Linked DNA regions of Homo sapiens: regions 1, 2, 3, 4, 5 and 7 are each linked to region 6. The links are contacts of gene promoters, found by promoter capture Hi-C in blood cells and fetal thymus (Javierre and others, 2016). All regions are on one chromosome and are shown on one strand. The core of a region is centred on a gene start or on the middle of the fragment in contact, and the rest is flanking DNA. Distances in the headings are between cores, read along the strand shown.

The links. The method cuts DNA at HindIII sites, captures the fragments that hold promoters and counts their contacts. A CHiCAGO score of 5 or more calls a contact.
Region 1: a contact is called between a fragment that was not itself captured here and the fragment with the promoter of DNAJC21 in region 6, in 2 of 17 cell types (total CD8 T cells and total CD4 T cells). The highest score is 5.2, in total CD8 T cells.
Region 2: a contact is called between a fragment that was not itself captured here and the fragment with the promoter of DNAJC21 in region 6, in 11 of 17 cell types (naive CD4 T cells, activated CD4 T cells, total CD4 T cells and 8 more). The highest score is 15.5, in naive CD4 T cells.
Region 3: a fragment that was not itself captured here is called in contact with the fragment with the promoter of DNAJC21 in region 6 in 3 of 17 cell types (neutrophils, naive B cells and activated CD4 T cells); the score reaches 8.4 in neutrophils.
Region 4: a fragment that was not itself captured here is called in contact with the fragment with the promoter of DNAJC21 in region 6 in 1 of 17 cell types (neutrophils); the score reaches 5.9 in neutrophils.
Region 5: a fragment that was not itself captured here is called in contact with the fragment with the promoter of DNAJC21 in region 6 in 1 of 17 cell types (total CD8 T cells); the score reaches 5.6 in total CD8 T cells.
Region 7: a fragment that was not itself captured here is called in contact with the fragment with the promoter of DNAJC21 in region 6 in 1 of 17 cell types (neutrophils); the score reaches 5.6 in neutrophils.

The regions. Positions count from the first base shown.
Region 1 is chr5:32,435,457-32,438,706 of GRCh38, forward strand. All of the region lies in intron 2 of ZFR (zinc finger RNA binding protein), which reads right to left. Among named protein-coding and RNA genes, the nearest start is that of ZFR, 7.7 kb to the right of the region's middle. The HindIII fragment of the contact is 3,794 bases long and covers 1-3,250 here.
Region 2 is chr5:37,373,139-37,376,334 of GRCh38, forward strand. No RefSeq gene overlaps it. Among named protein-coding and RNA genes, the nearest start is that of NUP155, 3.6 kb to the left of the region's middle. The HindIII fragment of the contact is 2,807 bases long and covers 1-2,801 here.
Region 3 is chr5:32,299,216-32,302,292 of GRCh38, forward strand. All of the region lies in intron 1 of MTMR12 (myotubularin related protein 12), which reads right to left. Among named protein-coding and RNA genes, the nearest start is that of MTMR12, 12 kb to the right of the region's middle. The HindIII fragment of the contact is 5,364 bases long and covers 1-3,077 here.
Region 4 is chr5:32,538,537-32,541,699 of GRCh38, forward strand. All of the region lies in intron 4 of LOC124900954 (a long non-coding RNA gene), which reads left to right. Among named protein-coding and RNA genes, the nearest start is that of SUB1, 45 kb to the right of the region's middle. The HindIII fragment of the contact is 822 bases long and covers 1,427-2,248 here.
Region 5 is chr5:32,177,648-32,180,637 of GRCh38, forward strand. No RefSeq gene overlaps it. Among named protein-coding and RNA genes, the nearest start is that of GOLPH3, 4.8 kb to the left of the region's middle. The HindIII fragment of the contact is 304 bases long and covers 1,247-1,550 here.
Region 6 is chr5:34,927,967-34,931,248 of GRCh38, forward strand. DNAJC21 (DnaJ heat shock protein family (Hsp40) member C21) reads left to right here and starts at 1,593. Exons shown (of 12, transcript NM_001012339.3): 1 at 1,593-1,950. The coding sequence starts at 1,854. LOC124900961 (a long non-coding RNA gene) reads right to left here and starts at 1,715. Exons shown (of 2, transcript XR_007058731.1): 1 at 1,683-1,715; 2 at 1-1,167. RefSeq lists silencers at 1,269-1,738, 1,749-1,818, 1,849-2,048 and enhancers at 2,077-2,722, 2,189-2,358. The HindIII fragment of the contact is 5,598 bases long and covers 508-3,282 here.
Region 7 is chr5:32,141,770-32,144,979 of GRCh38, forward strand. It overlaps GOLPH3 (golgi phosphoprotein 3), which reads right to left. Exons shown (of 4, transcript NM_022130.4): 2 at 1,980-2,111. Among named protein-coding and RNA genes, the nearest start is that of GOLPH3, 31 kb to the right of the region's middle. The HindIII fragment of the contact is 6,855 bases long and covers 1-3,210 here.

The sequences.
Region 1 (3,250 bases), core at 555-3,054, 2.5 Mb before region 6:
TTCTGATAGTAACTTAAACAGAAGAGTGTTATGATTAAATTTACATTTCATAGAGACCATTATGCTTATAGTATAAAACGGTTTGGGAATGGGCAGGATTGGGGAAGTAAGAGAAGCTATAAAGCCACTTTCATAAATCACAGCACTCTTTGCTCTCATCTACATGGTTATTGTTTAAACAGTTTTATTGTTTTTCCCATCAAAAAGGGTCATATTTCTTCAAGCCTATTTTCAAAGACATGCCTTGCCCATTTAATGCTGACTACCATACTAGTAGTGTATTTTATACTATAGCTTTTCCCAGAAATATGAATTCAAAAAATTTATTTTCATTTGATTGATTTCAACCACAGTGCTTCCCAATACTTTAAGCCCATGTGACCTCTGGAGCTCTTAAGTATCTATGTGAACACTAGACTACAAACTTATTTTAAGCAAAATTTTATGCTATTTTTTTCTGTAGCTCCAAGTGATCAGATTCTAGTTTCCTTATAAAGGCTACTCATTAAAATTACACCAGTAACTTGATAACTGTACTAAATCCCTAATCCAGCAACTCTAAAGCTGACGACCTTGCTATCATCTTTTGGTTTTCATGACCCTAAATTCTCCTGGCTCTCTGTTCACACAGTATTTCTTTCTTTCCCTGGTCCTACCTTAAAGTTGGTAACCACAGTTGTATTCTTTTTTTTTTTTTTTTTTTTTTTTTTGAGATGGAGTCTCGCTCTGTCGCCCAGGCTGGAGTGCAGTGGCGCGATCTCGGCTCACTGCAAGCTCCGCCTCCTGGGTTCACACCATTCTCCTGCCTCGGCCTCCCGAGTAGCTGGGACTACAGGCGCCCACCACCACGCCCGGCTGATTTTTTTTTTTATTTTTAGTAGACACGTGGTTTCACCGTGTTAGCCAGGATGGTCTCGATCTCCTGACCTTGTGATCTGCCCGCCTCAGCCTCCCAAAGTGCTGGTAATACAGGCGTGAGCCACCGTGCCTGGCCCCATAGTTGTATTCTTTATTTTTCTATAAATAATTTAAAACATGTCTACTGAATGCTTGATATATGCCAGGCACTGTACTTTCTCTAGTTTCATCCATATTCACCAGCCACCTACTGAATAATGGCTAACATTGATAGAGATATAATATATGCCAGATACTGTTCTGAACACTTCACAAATAATGTTTTCTTTTCTTCATTTTATTAATAATACAGAGTCTCACTTTGCTGTTCACGCTAGTCTCAAAATCCTGGGATTAAAATCCTCCAGCCTAGGCCTACCAAAGTGCTAGGGTTACAGGTGTGAGTCACTGCCAGGTCCACCTTACAAATAATAGTGAATCCTCGAAACAACACAATGGAGAATGTAAAAACCTCCTGGGATACTGATAATGTTCTGTTTTTGTTTTTAATTTAAGTGCAAGTTACACAGGTACACTCGGTTTATGACATTTCATTTTCTCTTACATGTGCAGTTTTCCTATGAGGCAAAGAAAATATTATCTTCAATTTATAGATAAAAAAACTAACAACAGACTGTTTGCCCAAGGTCACATGGCAGGTAATAGGAGGAGCCAGATTCAGCTTAGGTAGTCTGACTTCAGAGCCAACCCAGTCTCTATTATATCATGCAATCCAGATATTTGTCTTGGCTCAATACTTTTCCTTTGTCTAAAATGACCTTCCCTTGATTTTCAGAATGAAAGAACACGAAGTCTACCTCAAACTCCATAGTCAAAATCCTCCAATTTCCCATTTTAGTATTTCATTAAAACTTAATTATAATGGCATAGTTATTTGTAGACTCATCTGTCTCCACCCTCATGCCCCAGAAGTGTAAACTCCCTGAAAGCAGGGACTATGCATATTGTAGATGCTCATAAAATATTAAATAAGTGAATTATTCCCTACAAATGCACTTTAATATAAAGTGTATACAAGACTAATATTCAAATAAAACAAAAAAAAACCCAAAGTTTATTTCATTCATTTTATCTCTGTATGAATAAAAGCTGTACTGTACATGGCTTTCATGAAATACTAAGAAATGATATACTCAGAACAATCACTCTAATCCTGTATTCTGACAGAGTGGTGTCATGGACAATTAATAGTCAAGCAACCTTTAATAAGTAGACTAAAGATCCATCCAAATAATACTAACATACTTCATCAATTACAACATTTATAAGCCTGAATGGTCTTCTGATTAACCTGATGATCTATGTCTCTGAGTAAAAATGTAGCTGATTTTTTTTTTAACAAATACATCTATTTAAACAGACATATATTAGATATATACTCTAATCCAACTGCTTATATAAGCATGTCTATCTCTGGGATCTCTATTTTAACTCAATAATCTGTCTATCCCTGTACCAATACCACATTTTTCTATTAATAATATTTTGGTATCTGATATTACAAGTCCTTCCTTATCATTTCTGCAAGACTTTCATGATATTTTTAGCTGAACACTCTCCTCACTATATACATTAAAATCCCTTTATCAAGTTATACCAAAAATCCTATGAGATTTTTATTGGAGTAATGCTAAATATATATAGGAGATAATAATTTGATGGCATTGGTTTTTCACTCATGAACACAGTCCATCTTTGTCATCTTTTATGACTTTTTTATCCTATTGTATTTTCTCTTCAAAGTGTTTTGAATACTTCATTTGTTTTATTCCTGCTTACTTAATAGATTTGGTGGCTATACATAAACAGGACTTATTTGAAATTTAATAATCTAATTCAATATTGATGAAACAAGAATGCTACTGATTTTATCTGAAAATTTTTTTTTTTTTTTTTTTTTTTTTTTGAGACGGAGTTTCACTCTTGTCGCCCAGGCTGGAGTGCAATGGCGCGATCTTGGCTCACCGCAACCTCCACCTCCTGGATTCAAGCTATTCTCCTGCCTCAGCCTCCCGAGTAGCTGGGATTACAGGCATGCACCACCACGCCTGGCTAATTTTGTAGTTTTAGTAGAGACGGGGTTTCTCCATGTTGGTCAGGCTGGTCTCGAATTCCCAACCTCAAGTGATCTGCCCACCTCGGCCTCCCAAAGTGCAGGGATTACAGGCATGAGCCACCGCTCCCGGCCTTTGCCTGATCATAGATCCAGAAAACTTGCTGTACTCTTATTACTTCTCATATTCTTGCCTGACAAGCATAACAATCATGTTACCTGTAAATAGAAACTTTCCTTCTTTCTCTATTAGTAATGAGGACTCCAAATGTTTTAAAA
Region 2 (3,196 bases), core at 148-2,647, 2.4 Mb after region 6:
ATCCATGTTAATATAACACTTTTTTAAAATGAGAAATCACTATAGTTTCTAAAACAGGGAGAAGAATGCGATTATTTCATATTTTTGCAAATCTCTTTAGTGTCTGGCTCAGTAACGGATGGCTGGATTCTCATATCTGTATCTGCTGTCAATTGAAGAAAAATAACCCTCTTTTAAAGAATTAAAGTCAGTTTGATTCAGACTCAGGATTGCAACCTTTCAGAGAGTTTCTGTTAAGACTGCTCCAAAGTAGCTTTTAGCCCACAGCTTACATGTCAGGGGTTGGAAGCTCTGCATGTGCTCAGAAATTACATTAAACATGCTCATAAACTGGGTATAGTGACTCACACCTGTAATTCTAGCACTTTGAGAGGCCTATGCATGAGGGTCTCTTGAGGCCAGGCATTCAAAACCAACCTGGGCAGCCAGGTGTGGACCTGTAGTCCCAGCTACTTGGTGGGCTGAGGCAGGAGCATCACTTTAGCCCAGGAGTTCCAGGTTGCAGTGAGCCATGACCATGCCACTGCATTCTAGTCTGGTTGATAAAGGGAGACTCTGTCTCTAAAAAAAAAAAAAAAAAAAAAAAAAAAAGCTCATAAATTACATTAGAGCAAAATCTCATCAAAGTTTGGGTGTAAGAGTACATCTGGTTATAGATTACAGAGGCATAATCATGAATCCTATGGGACACTATCTTATGTACTGGAAGAGGCAAGGGGTAGGAACACTGAACTTACCTTTTTTTAAAAAATGCATTGATTGAAGCAAGAGACGTGGGAACCTGTGCTCTAACCTGCTTATTGTTTCCAGGGCATTCTTCTAGAAGTCTATACTTAGTCACTGAGTTGGGCTTTGTGAAATTCTGCTGGCAAGCAGAATGAGCAAACTTGGTTTTTTATGTTTGCTACTTTGTCTAACATGTCAACATTTTGTGACTTATTTAGTTGAAGTATAATATATTAATATTAAGAAAAGCTGGCCTCACCAGGCGCGCTGGCTCACACCTGTAATCCCAGCACTTTGGGAGGCCGAGGCGGGTGGATTGCCTGAGGTCAGAGGTTCGAGACTAGCCTGGCCAACATGGTGAAACCCCGTTTCTACTAAAAATACAAAAATCAGTGGGGCATGGTGGCGCAAGCCTGTAATCCCGGCTACTTGGGAGGCTAAGCCAGGGGAATTGCCCGAACCTGGGAGGCGGAGGTTGCAGTGAGCTGAGATCGTGCCATTGCACTCCAGCCTGGGCTACAAGAGCGAAACTCTGTCTCAAAAAAAAAGAAAGAAAGAAAGAAGGAAAAACTGGCCTCAGTTACATATTTAGAAAAAGAAGAAGTATTTTAATAATTGTCAACAAGTGCAGTCAGTTTTTTTTTTTTTTTAAACAGAGTTTTGCTCTTGTCGCCTAGGCTGGGGTGCAATGGTGCGATCTCAGCTCATTGCAACCTCTGCCTCCCAGGTTCAAGCAATCCTCCTGCTTCAGCCTCCTGAGTAGCTGGAATTACAGGCTAATTTTCTTTTCTTTATTTTTTTTTTTTGAGATGGAGTTTTGCTCTTGTTGCCCAGGTTGGAGTGCAGTGGCATGATCTCTGTTCACTGCAACCTCTGCCTCTCAGGTTCAAGCAATTCTGCCTCAGCCTTCCGAGTAGCTGGGATTACAGGCACATACCACCATGCCCAGCTCATTTTTTTGTATTTTTAGTAGAGACGGGGGTTTTACTATGTTGGTCAGGCTGGTCTTGAACTCCTGACCTCAGGTGATCCACCCGCCTTGGCCTCCCAAAGCGCTGGGATTACAGACGTGAGCCACCGCACCCAGCTACGCCTGGCTAATTTTCTGTATTTTTAGTAGAGACGGGGTTTCACCATGTTGGCCAGGCTGGTCTCGAACTCCTGGCCTTGGGTGATCCTCCCACCTCGGCTTCCAAAGTGCTGGGATTACCCGTGTAAGCCACCATGCCTGACCTGTTTTTCTTAAAGTGATAAACTCATTTCATTTATTTTTGAAAAAATGTTTGCCAAATACTTAAATATGAACAACTGTACTTTGTGAGTCATTCTTTCAGGTAAAAATAATGTTCCATGAAAAAAGCTAACCACTCAATTACAAGTGGTTTTCTTTTCGATGACCATTCTACTTAGATATGCATTAGCTGGGCATGGTGGCGTATGCCTGTGGTCCCATCTACTCAGGAAGCTGAGGCAGGGGAAGATCGCTTGAGTCCAGGAGTTTGAGGCTAAAGTGCTTCATGACTGAACTTGTAAATAGCCACTGCACTCCAGTCTGGGTAACACAGTGAGACCCCATCTGTAAGAAATTTTTTTAAAAACATACTTTATGATTACTTCTCATTTTGTCATACTGAAGGTTAAAAAGACGTATAATTAAGGGTCAGGGTTTAACGAAATGAATACTGTTTATGGCTTTATTAAGGATATTCCTAAGGGAAACTGATTTTGCTTACAACGCCTATGTAACTGAAAAATACAGTGACTACTACAACATTTTGAATCCTACTGCCTTGATTTATTTTAAGGGACTGTTTTAATTTAGGAATTTTAAGATAGAGCATGCTTCTTCAATGATTAGTAGAAACACAGATATAAACAAAGATTTTATTACTTACATGCCTGGCGGGGCATCTGGCGCACCTGGAGGTCAAGGAATGCAGTCAGGGAAAGACAAAGAGGGACTCATGAGCCAATGCATTTATTGGGTTCATGGTGTTTTCCAAATAGATTTCCCAAGAGGAATTCCCACACTTTAATTGGTGGGTTTAAAGCAAGCATGCACAAATTTGAGGACAAGCTTGTCAGCCCAGAATGGCTTTGAATGTGGCCCAACACAAATTCGTTAACTTTCTTAAAACATTGTGAGATTTGTGATTTTTTTAAAGTTCTCAGCTGTTGTTAGTGTATTTAATGTGTTGCCCAAGACAATTCTTCTTCTTCCATTGTGGCCTAGGGAAGCCAAAAGATTGGACACCCCGTTCTTGGAAGTCATGCTGTGACCGAGGTAGTCACTGTGGCATATCTGCACAGTCCATGTAGGACGTCAGTGTCAGCAGGGCCGGTGAAGTAGGCTGTATGTATTTATCCTATGGGGAGGCGGGCACCAGGAGGAAGTTTTACACAATAGATACCTGGATTGATCACATTGAGGAACTGGGAGGAGGTGTAGAACTAGAAACGGTGTCAAGGG
Region 3 (3,077 bases), core at 119-2,618, 2.6 Mb before region 6:
CTAACAGCAACCTTACGGGCTTTTATTTTATTCCCATTTCACAGATCAGAAAACTGAGGCTCAGAGAAGTTAAACACCCAGCCCAAATTCACCATTAGCAAGTAGGAAGCCCTGTGTGACACCAAAGCCATGCTCTTAACTACCACATTATACTGAAAGTAAAGATTGTTGTGCTGGGATATGTACAAGTGCCAGAAAAAAGGTGTCAGGTGGCAGTTATGGGGCTGTCACTGCTTTATGATTTAAGCTAACGGATGTGACTGACAGCAGCTGCAGAGACACATGGCATTGCCATCTGTGCCTCCCCTTCTACCACCGCCTCCAAAACTGCTCTATAAACATTAAGTTAGGGGAAGAGCTGGGAGAAGTTAAAAGGCTTGGAGCAGGAAGAAGGCAAGAGGAACCAGGGACAGATGAGAGGTGCCCACAGGCTCACTAAGGGCCAGACTGATCTATGGTACAGCAGCATGTCACAGAAAGAAGGAATCCTCATAGAATCTTGGAGATACTCCTGCAGGTCCGAGCAGCGACCCTTGGATTCTATTCCTCAAGACTTCTCTCTCACCATCACACATGTGTGCACACACCTTACATAAGAGATGGGGAAAGATGTCACCCAGTCCTAACACAGCTATGAGCCTTTCACACCCCTCTTGCCTGCTTGCTACATTATCCCCCTCCTCCCCACACCAAATCCCGCTTTAATGTCGACCTTTCCAAGTCCTACACAGCTTTTGCATAAGACCAGATGCTGCCTTGGGTTCTGCAGTGGGTCTTGCTCTGTGCCCCCAGAGCACTTGGGCATGCCTCCCTCATAAGTAGGCAGCTCCGACCTCTGTGCAGAGAACTCTGGTGACCAGCCATCTCCCCAAGAGAAGGTGAAGCTCCTGAGTGCACAGACTGTTTCTTTGCATTCCTAATTTTAATAGTGCTTAGCAAATGGTAGATACATAAAAATGTTGCTTAAATAACAAATCTTCCAGTTCAAGTTATTAATAATAACAGCACCTAGCAGTTGTTGAGTATCTGCCATGTGTCAAGTCCTTAGCTGGGTTTATATGGTTTATTTCTTCTCATCCTCTAAATCAGCCTGCAGGGAAGACACCTATTCACGTTACAGGTAAGAAAAGGAAGTCTCGGATAGGTGAAGTTACATGTCTAAGGTCACCACCAAGTGGCTGAGCCTGGATCAGAACTTTGCAAAATCAAAGTCTCTTCCACAATGCTATGGCACCTTGTTTCCATCCCCAGACTCCTACTGTGGTTGGTTTATTCCTCAGTTGCTCCTCTGTAACAGGACCAGACACAGAGACAGCCACACCCTCACCACACTGAGGGCCTCTCTCATGCACCCCAGAGCTCCCATACCCCCTCTCTGTCTGCCACCCAGATTACATCTGCCATACTTACTGCGCTCCTCAGGTACTACTTATAGGTACATCAGGTTCTTCCTGTCACCCTTTTAGCATAGATCATCTTTATTCAGCAGGTAGCAGAAAGTGATCATTAAAACAAAAAGAGAAAAAGCAGCCACTTCTCTTCTCCAGAACGTAAAGCTGCATAAAGAGATTTGTAGGGGCCAGGCACAGTGGCTCACACCTCTAATCCCAGCACTCTGGGAGGCCAAGACGGGTAAATCACCTGAGGTCAGAAGTTCAAGATTAGCTTGGCCAACATGGTGAAACCCCATCTCTACTAAAAATACAAAAATTAGCCGGGTGTGGTGGCATGCGCCTGTAGTCCCAACTACTCAGAAGGCTGAGGCAGGAGAATCGCTTGAGCCTGGGAGGTGGAGGATGCAGTGAGCCGAGATCTCGCCACTGCACTGCAGCTGGGTAACAGAGCAAGACTCCATCTCAAAAAAAGAAAGAAAAAGATTTGTAGGGCAAGTGAACTTGAAGCTAAACTAGGCAAGCTGGGGTGGGGCTGGGGGCTGCAGACAGATGACAGGTAGGTAGGTAGGTAAAGAGTGAAAAAAGAGGGGCCAAGAGAATACATTTGGGCATCAAAGGAGAAGGCACAAAGTATAAACACTGAGGCCAGCCCAGGAGTCCCTCAGAGATAAAACAGGGGTACTTGCTGATGCCAAACAACTCATCCCTGGGATCTGAACCCCAGATTCCCTTCTTTAACTAGCAAGATACCCAATACCACAGACTGACTGACCCCCTAGGGAAAGTGCTATTCCCAGTGGTTTGCATAGACAGGAGGCAAATATTCACGGGGAGACCAAGAGTGAAAGAGAATCATTACTTCTTCCAAGGACAGGGACACATTGGGAAGTTGATCTCAAGGGATTCAATTTTATGTTTGGAGGAACATAGATTTTTTTATTTGAAAAACAGGACTCATTCACTTCAAGTGTTCTCAAATACTTCAATACTCTTAGCAAAGGCTGGGCGCAGTGGCTCATGCCTGTAATCCCAGCACTTTGGGGGGCCGAGGTGGGTGGATCACCTGAGGGTAGGAGTTTGAGACCAGTCTGGCCAACATGGCGAAACCCTGTCTCTACTAAAAATACAAAAATTAACCGGGCATGGTGGCACACCCCTGTAACCCTAGCTACTCAGGAGGCTGAGATACCACAAGAATCGCTTGAAACTGGGAGGCAGAGATTGTGCCACAGCACTCCAGCCTGGGTGACAGAGACTACTCCATCTCAAAAAATAATAATAAAAATAAAAATAAACAAAAAATAAAAAACAAACAAAAAAACTCTTAGCAAAAGCAAAAAAACAAAAACAAAAACAAAAAACAAAAAACATTGTCTGAAACAGGAGCTGGCAATCTGTCACAAGAGGAAGGTCATCTTCAACATATTTCATCACTGTGGCCAGGGCTTCCCTTGCCCCCACTTATACATAAGCCCTATCTTACGGCTGAAATCCCTCCCTTCCCAAAACAACTGAGGTTTTGCATGCCACCTCTGAAAGCCTGTGCACCAGCCAGGCCTATAGGAAATGAAGGACAGGGTACGAGAGGGAAAAGTGATGGCTATTATTTTAGGAAAAGCATTTAAATATGAAATCAAAACAGCATGGTTTTACAACTGCCTTTGAAATAAAGAGAGTATTAGT
Region 4 (3,163 bases), core at 588-3,087, 2.4 Mb before region 6:
AAATAACAGAGACTGGAGATTATGTGTGGGAATTATTCTACTCTTATCCTGAGTATGTCTGTACTTCAATCCTGGTGCTCACTTCAAGAAAGAGGAGGATGGGGTTGCCGTTGCTCTCAAGAAAGAGGAGGATGGGGTTGCCATTGCTCTAGCAGACTACTGTTACTCCCAGAAGCTCACTTAAAGGTTCCATTTCCATAACCAATTACAGAGCAAATGCTTTTTCATAGGAATTGGTCTTTGCGGGGTTGACATTTCAGGTTGCAAAGACCCCGAAGCTTTAGGAAAGCTGAACTTTGCCGTTGAGAAATTTAGGAGGGTAGAAATTGCAACACTATCTTAGCTGCAATTAGCTGGCATTTCTGCCAAGCGCTAATACATATTTCACCCTAACTTCCAGTGAAGGACGACATTGATAAGAATATTTGGGGAGTAGCTGTGAAAGTTCATCTGGTTTTAATAGGGAAACATTGTCCTTTTCTCTGCTGATTGGAGAGCAGGTCAGGCATGAAACTGGCCTCACCCAGGAAAGACTCACATGGTTCATTCTCTCTCCAGGAATGGTAGGGAAAGCACGTGTTTTGAAACACTGGGTTTTCCCTGGCCCGGGAGAAAGTGGATCAAAAGAATCGCTGTTTTCTCCGCTGTTGTTTGGGTTCTCTAGTTTGAAAGGGTCATGGTGGTGTCTCCTGATGGGCCATTAAAGGCAATGTTGAGGAGAATAGAGAAAATACATGAAGAAAGAATAAGGAAAATTGGACATTTGGTAGAAAAGCCCAGGATTCTCTGGAGAAACGTTGGAGGTAGTGCCGAGAGAGTCTGCTGCACCAGAGGTGCCCCACCAGGGGCCCCACCAGGGGACTCTTTAAAAGAATGTTCTTGAGCTAAATTCCTGCCAACCTTCCCATGTAGCTGGTGCAATTTTCACTCCATATTCTGCTTTCTTTATTTTCTACCGCAACTGAATTCTGAGTTCCTAATCCACTGGGACTCACACTTAATAGCCTGTCTATCTACTGGCATTTGTTTGCATTGTACAAGTACAACCAAAGGCTATAGGCTTTTGGGAGCCACAGTCAGGAAGAAGTCTATCTGTCTGTCTCTCTGTTCTTTAGACTTCAGTCTTCTTACACCCTTTCCAAATGGCAACGGGCACAAAATGGCCTATCTGCTGGAAGTGGGCAATGAGCAAAAGAGACACATACATGGAAACAATGAGTTAAGAATTTAAAATATTATTCTGCACACACGTAAGTGGGAACTTCATGTCCTCTGTTCAGAAGTAAAGCAGTTGGAACCTCTGGAATCAGAATCATCTGTGCATTTGCTAAAAATATAGATTCTTGTGCCCTACCCAAATTCTGCACCCGAAAATTCTGATTCTGCCTGAATCAGAATCTTTCCAGGCAATTCTTATGTGCATCAAAGCTTGAGAGTTGCCTAGACGCAGCCTCAGCTGAACCATCTACTGTGTTTTAATACTGAGTTGTGCTTGTTCTCAAGCTGGTTCAGAGCACTTTAATGTGCATTCAAATCATGCTGAGGTCTTGTTAAGTTAGGTGGTGGGACGTGAGATTCTGCATGTCTAACAAACGCTTGGGTGATGCTGCCACTGCTGGTTGGAGGACCACCCCTTGGGTGGCAAAGTGCTAGAGAGACTATTTTTATTTCCTTTGCACTCCTGTGAGGCCATCTTGAGGCTTCTCAAGTCCCTGGGGCCAGTGATTTGCTTGCACTGGGATTGGAGATTGCTGCACCCTCATGGGTACTGTGCTTTGTTGACTGGGCTCTATCTCATGCTCATCCAGATTTACCCTGCCTTCCTGCTTCCCCTTCCATCTCCTCAGCCAACACCCCTATTCCCACCCTCACTCTTCTACCCCCACTCTGCCTAAGGGGCAGCCCTGCTGCCATAGCCTGGTCTTCCTCACACTGTGGGTCTACTCTGACTATAGATACATAATTGAATATCTTTAGATAATCTTCAGATTTGCTAGTATGATAAAGTCCTTCTTCCTCCTAGGAGAAAAGGGGAAGTGGGACTCGAAGCAAGCATGTAAAATTGAGTCAGGAGTTCTTTTTTCTCTTTAGGGCCACCATCAGTGGGTGGCCCCAGTGTAATGGAATGGAGTGGAAGATGTTACCATTTCCTACACTGTCCTTGACCTTGAAAGAAGAACTGAATCTATGGGACCTACTGCCACTTTCTATAGGTGGAGGGGAAAGGGGAACCCCGTTGCATGGCATAAGCTTATCCCTCAAGTCCTTGGTGAGCGGGGGTTGGGGGTAAGAGGGAAGAATTACAGGGTGTTAGAAGTGGTGAGATTCTTTTCTCCAGTCATGGAGAACTTCTGATATTCAATCCAGAATGGCTTTAATTGCTACTAGTTAACAATAAGAAAGAAGGTCTACAGTTGAGGTCTAGGGAAAGACTGGCTTGTAGTGCTCCTCAGGCTTGCAGTCACATTGAAAAGTCTAATGGTGGCCAGGCGCGGTTGCTCATGCCTGTAATCCCAGCACTTTAGAAGGCCGAGGTGGGCAGATCACCTGAGGTCAGGAGTTCGAGACCAGTCTTGCCAGCATGGTGAAACCCTGTCGCTACTAAAAATACAAAAATTTGCTGGGCATGGTGGTGGGTGCCTGTAATCCCAGCTACTTGGGAGGCTGAGGCAGGAGAATTGCTTGAACCCGGAAGGCGGAGGTTGCAGTGAGCGGAGATTGTGCCACTGCAGTCACATGAGATTGTGCCACTGCGGCAGAGCGAGACTCTGTCTCAGAAAAAAAGAAAAGAAAAGAAAAGAAAAGTCTAATGGTTAGAGTGAAGCCAGCCATAGCCAGTGGACTGTCATGACAATAGATACAGATAAAAATTCCAGACTGTACAGTTGTTGACTGTGGCTCTGGGCCAGAGTAAGATCTCTTAGGCCTGGGAAAGTAACCATAGATGTCACTGGCCCTGAGGCCAAGCAGAGCCAGTACCTCTCAGAGCAGTGGCTTGCAAACTAGGGTCTGCAGAAAGCTCTTTCAGCATCACCGGGGGAGATTCATAACAGCAATGCCAACACCCACCCTGAAGAGTCTGATTCAGCAGGGCCTCATGAGCTATATTTAAAAAATATATTATATGGGCAATTTAACAGTAAGTTAAATTGCAAGTTTTGAC
Region 5 (2,990 bases), core at 149-2,648, 2.8 Mb before region 6:
AGAGTAAGCACTTCAAGCAGGTGGATAACAGGACCCCTTTCTTTCCTCACATGAACTGTCCTGAGATCGTTTATACAACTTCTCAGTAGCATTTAGCTCCAGCAAGCTCAACGACCCCTTCACTCCTCGCTTCCCTCCACTAGCTTCTGCTCCCAGCTGTTGCACTCCCTAATAAAGCACAAAAGACTTTGTCTTAGGCCCTGCTTCCTAGGGAACACAGATTAAGATGCCCATTTTACCTATGAAGAAACAGTTCAGAGAAGTTAAGTAATCTGCCCAACTTAACACTTCTGGAAAATCACAGACCTGGATTAGAACCCTGGTCCTTAATTCAGTATCAAACAAGTATATTTCTACATGTTTGCTGCATGCCAGGCATTGTCATAAGCAATAAAGATACAATACTAAGCCAAAAGAGACATAGCCATACTTTTCATGAAACTGACAGTTTAATGAAGGGCACAGATATTAAGCAAATCCTGATGCTAATTAATGTAGAAATGTAGAAATGCTTTGAAAGAAGGAATACAGTCCTATGAGATCATGTACTGTCATATATGTGAGAAACCTAAGTTTTTATCTGGGACTCAAAGCTGCTCTGAAGAAGTCATAAGCCAAAGAATGAACTGAAGTTAACCAAGTTGGAGGTAGAGGACATTCCTGAGAGGAAATATGCAAAGGCCCTGTAGCAAAAGACAGATCATGGGATGGAGGAGAACCAAGTAGAAGAGTTTTTACCTGGGCTGAGGGAGGGAGTGATGGCAAAAGCAATAGTTACAGACAAGGTCCAAATCATACAGTGCTGTCCATTTTAAGGCCATTTTAAGATTTGGGTCTTTTTTTTTTAGACAGGGTCTCGCTCTGTTGCCCAGGCTGGAGTGCAGTGGCGCAATTTTGGCTCTGCCTCCTGGGTTCAAGCGATCCTCCCACCTCAGCCTCCCAAGTAGCTGAGACTACAGGTGCATGCCACCACACTGCTGATTTTTGTTTTTTTGTGTGTTGTTTTTTTCTGTAGAGACAGGGTTTCACCATGTTGCCCAGGTCTTGAACTCTTGGGCTCAAGCGATCCGCCCGCCCTGACCTCCCGAAGTGCAGGGATTACAGGTGTGAGCCATCGTGCCTGGCCAAAATCTGGTCTTTATCCAACCAAACTCAATGGGAAGCTATCAAGGGTACTTTTAAATGCCCTCCGTGGGGGAAGAGGAGATGGGTGGGTGAGAGATGTTACCAGATTTGCATTTTGAAAAGCTTGCAGGATATACCCAAGGCATGGATATAGGATACAGAAGCAGCTCATTTTTGCAGTAGTCCTACAGAACCTGATGGTAAGTTCGACCACAATAGTGGAAGAAGAAAGGGTGGTAAGTGAATGTATTCAAGAGATAGTTAGTAAGTTAAACTGACACAACTCAATGAAAGACTGACTACGGAGTGTTGGGGCATAAAGGAGCGGAGATGTCGAGGATTACTCCCACTTCTGGCTTGTGTAGGAGAGGATGATATAGGGATCGCTGGGCAATGACCAGGTTTGCGTGAGTTTATTTCAGTTAAGCTTTTAAGAAGTATATAAAACTTCCAAGAGAATTTGTTGTGTAGGTAGTTCTATGTACAGAGTCTTTCTGGGTTTTTTTTATTGTTGTTTTTTGGTTTTGATTTTGCTTTGAGATGGAGTCTTGCTCTGTCACCATGCTGGAGTGCAGTGGCACGATCTTGGCTCGATGCAACCTCTGCCTCCTGGGTTCAAGTGATTCTCCTGCCTCAGCCTCCTGAGTAGCTGGGACTACAGGCACGCGCCACCACGCCCAGCTAATTTTTGTATTTTTAGTAGAGGTGGGATTTCACCATGTTGGCCAGGATGGTCTCAATCTCTTGACCTCGTGATCCACCTGCCTCGGCCTCTCAAAGTGCTGGGATTACAAGTGTGAGCCATCACACCCGGCCCAGAGTCTTTCTGTTTTAACCCAATAAAAATTTCAAAATGCCTAGAAAATGAAAGGCACCAGAAGAAAACTATGGGTAAATTCTTTTGTAATCAAGGAGAGAAGAAGCCTTTATTATCATGACTCAAAATCTGATTTTTAAAAATTTGAAATAAATTCACAGGAATTGCAAAATTAGTGCAGAGAGAGCTTGTATACCCTTAGTTTCCCCCAGTAGTAACATGTAACTATAGCACTATCAAAACCAGGAAATTAATATTGGTATGATCCACAGACATTATTCAGATTTCATGGGTTTTATGTGCATTGATTTATGTGTGTGTCATTCTATGCAATTGTACTACATGTAGATTTGTGTCAATACCACCACAATCAACATATAAAAATAAGCCAGGCATGGTGGCACACAACTGTAATTCCGGCACTTTGGGAGGCTGAAGCAGGAGGATTGCTTGAGCCCAGGAGTTGGAGACCAGCCTGGTCAACATAGCGAGACCCCGTCCCTACGGACTTTTTAAAAAAAATTAGCCAGGCATGGTGGCGATGCCTGTAGTCCCAGCTACCTGGAAGGCTGAGGCAAGAGGATCACTTGAGCCCAGGAATTTGAGGCTACAGTAAGCTCTGACTGTGCCACTGCTCTCCAGCCTAGGTCACAGAGTAATATCCTGTCTCTAAAAAACATAATAAACAAATAAAAAAAGATATAAAATTGTTCCATCATCACAGAGATCCCTCATGTTGCCCCTTTACAGTCATGGCAGCTCCAGCCCCTCTCCCGACTCTATCTCCGACTCCTGGCAACCACTACTTTGTTCTCCATCTATAATTTTGTCATTTGAGAATGTTATATAAATGGAATCATACATTATGAAGCCTTTTGAGATTTGCTTTTTTCACTCTGCATAATTCCCTTGAGATCTGTCCAAATTGCATACACCAATAGTTTGTTCCTTTTTATTGCTGAGTGGTAATTCATGGTACTCAGGTACCATATTTGTTTAACCATGGATCCATTGAAGGACTTTCCGGTTGTTTCCAATTTGGGGCTAT
Region 6 (3,282 bases), core at 343-2,842:
TCTTGAACTCTTGGGCTGAAGGGATCCTCCTGCCTCGGCTTCCCAAAGTGCTGGGATTACAGGCATGAGCCACCACGCCTGGTCAAGATGTTCCTTTAGACTGAAATTTATATCCAGCATAGTTACCTTTAATTATACAATGTTACAGGCAAAAATCCTTCTTACTTCAGAAGGTAAAAGAAGTAAGTGATTCCTACAGGCTGTATCCAAAACCAAATCAAGTTGGAGGGAGAAAATACTCCAAATTAAGTTGGAGGGAAAAAAATACTTTCCCTTTCCGTTTTTTTTTTTTTTTTTGTCCCTCCCTTCCCCCCGCCCACCATCCCAATTCTGTTCTCAGGAGGGGAAAGGTTTCATTCTCCCCCAAACTCAGACTTCTCAATCCTTATCCATTACCAATTTACCAACTAACTGAGACTGTGTAGAATCTTCCTCTGGAAAAAAGGGAAGTGTATGAATTCTGAGTAGTGAGTTGGTTGGTCAGTGGCGTGTGAAGTAACCTGATGAAGCTTAGCGTGGGTTTTTTATTTTACTGGGGGCAGCATATTGGGGAAGAGAAGGATAACCTTACTAAACCGCTTGGGTACGCCAACCCTGTGCAATAGATATTAGCAACATAGCTAACCATACATGGTTAGTAAATACAACCCACACCTAACTGATGCATGTAAACATTCCACATTACAGTGAAATATATTGGTGTATTAATGCATTTTAATAATTATGGTATTATTTTGATACCTTTCAAAGTGTTTGGAATAATTGTGCAGATAGTCAGATCAACCAAAACCTACCAGTTAAATACTATCCTTTAACTGCTTTCTTAACCTAAACCAATCTTGGAAAGGTAGGATTAGAGGCCAGAAAGTTAGGATTAAAGTGTGTTGGATGGATAGATCAGCACAATTTCATCCATGTTGGTGGTAAGGCTTTTCATTAAGTGTGTTGATGCTTCCCTTTTAAATTGTTTCCGCTTAAATAATCTAACTGTCCTTTCTCAAGCATATTGGTCAAGATGATCAATACCAGATATCTTAAGTGGCAGCTGAAGAGAATTAAAGAGATTAAAAAAAAAACCTGATATTCAGTCCAACCGAATTCTGCTACTGTATTAGCTGAGGAGGCTTGAGCCAACCACTTGACCACTTGGAGTCTGAATCGCCTTATCTATAAAAACGGGGATCCATTGAGAAATTATAATCAGATATTTTCCAGAATCCTCTCCCATCCCAGCTCCTATCTCCCCCTTCAGCCCTCAGGTCGGCTGCCACTCACACTGACCGCCATCTGTGCCCCTCACAATGACACCAGCGTGGCCCTGCCTCCCTTCCGCGCGGCCCCGCCTCTCGCCCCGCCGAGGCCCCGCCTCTCACACCAAGGTCCCGCCTTCCTCCTGTTCTTCCCGGCCAAGGCCTACCTTCCTCCCACGCGGCCCGCCTCTTTCCCCGCCAAGCTCCCGCCTTTCTCCTGCGCGGCCCGCCTCTCTCCTCGCCAAGGCCCCGCCTTCCTTCCTCGGGGCCTCGCCTCTCACCCCGCCGAGGCCCCACCCCCTCCCGCGCGGCCCTTTCCGGCACAGAGCCCACCCCTAGCCCATGCGAAGCGGCGGCCGCCGGCACCGCCCCCGCCGCGCTCCCGCTTGCCGCAGCCTGCGTCGTCTGCCGCCACCGCGCGCCTTCACTGACCTACACCACCGCCGCCGCCGCCGCCGCCGCCGGGCTCGCTGGCTGGCCCGGTGCGGGCGGCGGACTCCCGCCGGAGAGGACTGCCAGCGCCGCCGCCGCCGCCGCTTCGGCCCGGGCCCGGGCCCCGACCCCGTCCCGGGCCCCAGCGCCGGCCGCCCGCCCGGTCGGGCGATGAAGTGTCACTATGAGGCGCTGGGGGTGCGGCGCGACGCCAGCGAGGAGGAGCTCAAGAAGGCCTATCGGAAGCTGGCCCTGAAATGGCACCCGGGTAAGTACCTGTCCCGCAGCCCCCGCGGCCACTCGGAGAAGCCCGGCCCTCCCCGACCTTCCCTTCCCCCGGGCGGACTCCGCGGAGCCAGCAGAGAGGGACCTGGCGGCCTAGGAGCTCCTTGCCCCGCCCGGCCAGTGCCCGGAGCCGCCCTGCCCGTCTCGGTGGGCGAAGCGCTCTGCCCTGGCGCACCCCGGCTCACACCCCATCTCCTCATACCCGCGACCCCGGCCCCGCATCGCCACTGTAGGGGGAAAACTGCAGTCCAACAACCTCACTTGCTCCCGCTACCGGGTCGCAGACACCACGAGGGAGCAGTCGGGAACTCGGAACTCAGACCTGCCCCAGGCTTGCTTTTCCCTGCGTCCCTTGCAGCGCAGCCTCTCGGTGTTTTTCCTCCGCTGCCCTCCACCTCGTCCGGGAATCCCAGATACTTCAACCTGATGTATGGCTCTTTTCGTTTCTTAGTTAAGAAGTTAAGACACGGGAGCTAGTAAAATATCTTTTCAATAGGGATGCGCTTTTTTCGCTGTTTTTTTTTTCTTTTAATAAGCTGTTTAAGCAGACCTTGTACTTCACTTTGGACATGATTCTGCCGGGGAAGGTTTTAATCAGGCGGCTTCCCCAGTAAAGTTTGTATGTTTACTTAGAAGTATCCTTCCTTTGGATGTTTCATTGGTCTGTAATCCAGGCCTGTGTGACTTTTATGAAGTAATCTGATCTTCCAGGCTGGGAAACTAAGAGAGTAGTTGACTTTCAGCTTTTTGAGGTTCATATGAAGAGGCTTTCATATTAGCATTCATCAGTAAACACGGTTACAGAGTATCCAATATATGCAAGTCACTGCACTCTACTAAGTAGATTTGGAAATGCTGAGACAGGGGTCTTAGAGTCTTGTTAGGAAAACAACTTTCTGCCTTACACAAATGAAAAGTTAAATACAACTGCCAGAAAAAAATCGCAACATACATAATTGGTGGTTAGATTAATGGAACAACTAATATATGCTCCAGGAATTCAGGGAGGGAGTTACCATTTTGTATTGAGTCTTCCCCTTCTCAGAGGAGTTTGGACTGGATCGTAGAGGAATGCAATTTGGAAAAGTGAACTCAACAGTATGGAGGATAGCATGGTGGAGGACAAAAGATGTTCCGGGGGACAGTTTGACTGAAGGTGGTGTGTATTGCAGGTCTGAAAAATAGGGATTATGAGAGGAGTGGAAGGAAAGGTCAGGGACCCAAAGTCAAAAGGGAATGGCTATGGTGATGGAGTGAGAGATAGAGGTGTGGGTCTGTTACTTAAAGTTATGCTTACCAACAGAGGCGTGAAAAA
Region 7 (3,210 bases), core at 159-2,658, 2.8 Mb before region 6:
TTTCGTATTTTTTTGGTGGAGACGGGGATTCGCTGTGTTGGCCGGGCTGGTCTCCAGCTCCTAACCGCGAGTGATCCGCCAGCCTCGGCCTCCCGAGGTGCCGGGATTGCAGACGGAGTCTCGTTCACTCAGTGCTCAAAATGGTGCCCAGGCTGGAGCGCAGTGGCGTGATCTCGGCTCGCTACAACCTCCACCTCCCAGCAGCCTGCCTTGGCCTCCCAAAGTGCCGAGACTGCAGCCTCTGCCCGGCCGCCACCCCGTCTGGGAAGTGAGGAGCGTCTCCGCCTGGCTGCCCATCGTCTGGGATGTGAGGAGCCCCTCTGCCTGGCTGCCCAGTCTGGAAAGTGAGGAGCGTCTCTGCCCGGCCGCCATCCCATCTAGGAAGTGAGGAGCGCCTCTTCCCGGCCGCCATCACATCTGGGAAGTGAGGAGCGTCTCTGCCCGGCCGCCCATCGTCTGAGATGCGGGGAGCACCTCTGCCCTGCCGCCCCGTCCGGGATGTGAGGAGCATCTCTGCCCGGACGCCCCGTCTGAGAAATGAGGAGACCCTCTGCCTGGCAACCGCCCCGTCTGAGAAGTGAGGAGCCCCTCCGCCCGGCAGCCGCCCCGTCTGAGAAGTGAGGAGCCCCTCCGCCCAGCAGCCACCCCGTCCGGGAAGTGAGGAGCGTCTCCGCCCGGCAGCCACCTCGTCCGGGAGGGAGGTGGGGGGGTCAGCCCCCCACCCAGCCAGCCGCCCCGTCCGGGAGGTGAGGGGCGCCTCTGCCCGGCCGCCCCTACTGGGAAGTGAGGAGCCACTCTGCCCGGCCAGCCGCCCTGTCCGGGAGGGAGGTGGGGGGGTCAGCCCCCTGCCCGGCCAGCCGCCCCGTCCGGGAGGGAGGTGGGGGGGTCAGCCCCCAAGCCCGGCCAGCCGCCCCGTCCGGGAGGGAGGTGGGGGGATCAGCCCCCCGCCTGGCCAGCCGCCCCGTCCGGGAGGTGAGGGGCGCCTCTGCCCGGCCGCCCCTACTGGGAAGTGAGGAGCCCCTCTGTCCGGCCAGCTGCCCCGTCCAGGAGGGAGGTGGGGGGGGTCAGCCCCCCGCCCGGCCAGCCGCCCCGTCCGGGAGGTGAGGGGCGCCTCTGCCCGGCCGCGCCTACTGGGAAGTGAGGAGCCCCTCTGCCCGGCCACCACCCCGTCTGGGAGGTGTACCCAACAGCTCACTGAGAACGGGCCATGATGACAAGGGCGGTTTTGTGGAATAGAAAGTGGGGAAAGGTGGGGAAAAGATTGAGAAATCGGATGGTTGCCGTGTCTGTGTAGAAAGAGGTAGACATGGGAGACTTTTCATTTTGTTCTACACTAAGAAAAATTCTTCTGCCTTGGGATCCTGTTGATCGGTGACCTTAAACCCAACCCTGTGCTCTCTGAAACATGTGCTGTATCCACTCAGGGTTGAATGGATTAAGGGCGGTGCAAGATGTGCTTTGTTAAACAGATGCTTGAAGGCAGCATGCTCCTTAAGAGTCATCACCACTCCCTAATCTCAAGTACCCAGGGACACAAACACTGCGGAAGGCCGCAGGGTCCTCTGCCTAGGAAAACCAGAGACCTTTGTTCACTTGTTTATCTGCTGACCTTCCCTCCACTATTGTCCTGTGACCCTGCCAAATCCCCCTCTGCGAGAAACACCCAAGAATGATCAATAAAAAATAATAATAATAAAATAAAATTAAAAATAAATAAATAAATAAAAGCTGCAAATGAAGTCTAGAATCTTTCTGAATTTGTAAGATCCAGTGGCCGGTTACCTTAACAATCAATTACATTACTCATTGTAGGTGAAAGAACCAGGAAACCAAGAATGCAAAAAAGATATGGAAATACAATTGAAGAAAGACAACTTTAATATCAACTTCCACTTTAATTTTTGAAGGCTACTAGTAAAAACATACATTTTAAGCAGTACAACCTCTTTAAAAAGAATGTTACTCAGCACTCCTCTTACCTTTCTTGTTAATAGACTTTTACGTCTCATTCCACAAGCCTCTAGTTGTAACCTTCCTCTCAATGCTAATTCAATTAACATACAGCCACGTAATCCAGATGATATACAGTCATTCCAAAATGATGTGTAACCCTATTAAAAAAAGAAGAAGAAATAAAACAAAATAGCTAATTTACCTTGAATTCAGAGTAAAAAACAGAAATATTATCAGCCAAAGTCATATTTGGTGCCTTTTACCTTTCCTGTCTTTCTATAATAATATACTGAAAAAATACAATTAACATAAATTACTAATCGAGAATTTTCGGGGGCTTATCTTTCCACCACTTATTCTTACATACAAACAACAAATAACTTTAGAGGTCATAAGTTTAGAAACATAACTCACATTTCACCAAGCTGTGTGTTTATTAGGTTCTTTCAGAACCCTGCAAACTCCAAGGAATACTCAGTTAACCCCAGATTATAGTGATTTATTTATGTGGACAAGTTAAGAAGCTCAGGCAAAGACAACCTAGCCAAGTTAGCTTCACAGAGAATTAGAATACCATTCATTTATTGCTGTTTAGGATAAAACCACAAGGTTAATCCGAGCACTTTGGGAGGCTGAGCCAAGACGATGGCTTGAGCCCAGGAGTTTGAGACCAGACTGGACAACATAGTGAGATCCTGTTTCTACCAAAAAAAATTAATTAGCTAGGTGTGGTGCTGCACACCTGTAGTCGCAGCTACCCAGGAAGCTAAGGCAGGAGGACCACTGTGTCCAAGAGTTCAAGGCTACAGTGAGCAATAATTACACCAACACACTGCAGCCTGGGCAAAACAGTGCGACATTGTCTCTTAAATACACACACTGTTAATTTTGTAAGAAGATATTAGAAAAACACACATGCGCCCACAAACAAATGGATGGCTATAGGCCTAAAATTCTCAATAATAAACAGTATAACAATCAGATTGGCCCCAAGAGAGAATGTAAGGGCAGCATCCACAGTGGAAGAACGGCCAGACATAAGGAGGTTGATAGACATCTAGAGATCTGGGATACTGGTCAAGCAGGCATCACCAGATGAGGTCAGGACACTTTAACAGCAAACAACTGGGGTTGTTCAAATTATAAAGCCACAAATCTTGCCAGCAGGATTGCCAGCTATCAATTTAAGATACCCAGTTCTCATGAGACAGCAGAAGCTATAAATAACTCTCATTAAGGCTCAGAACAGGGTAACAC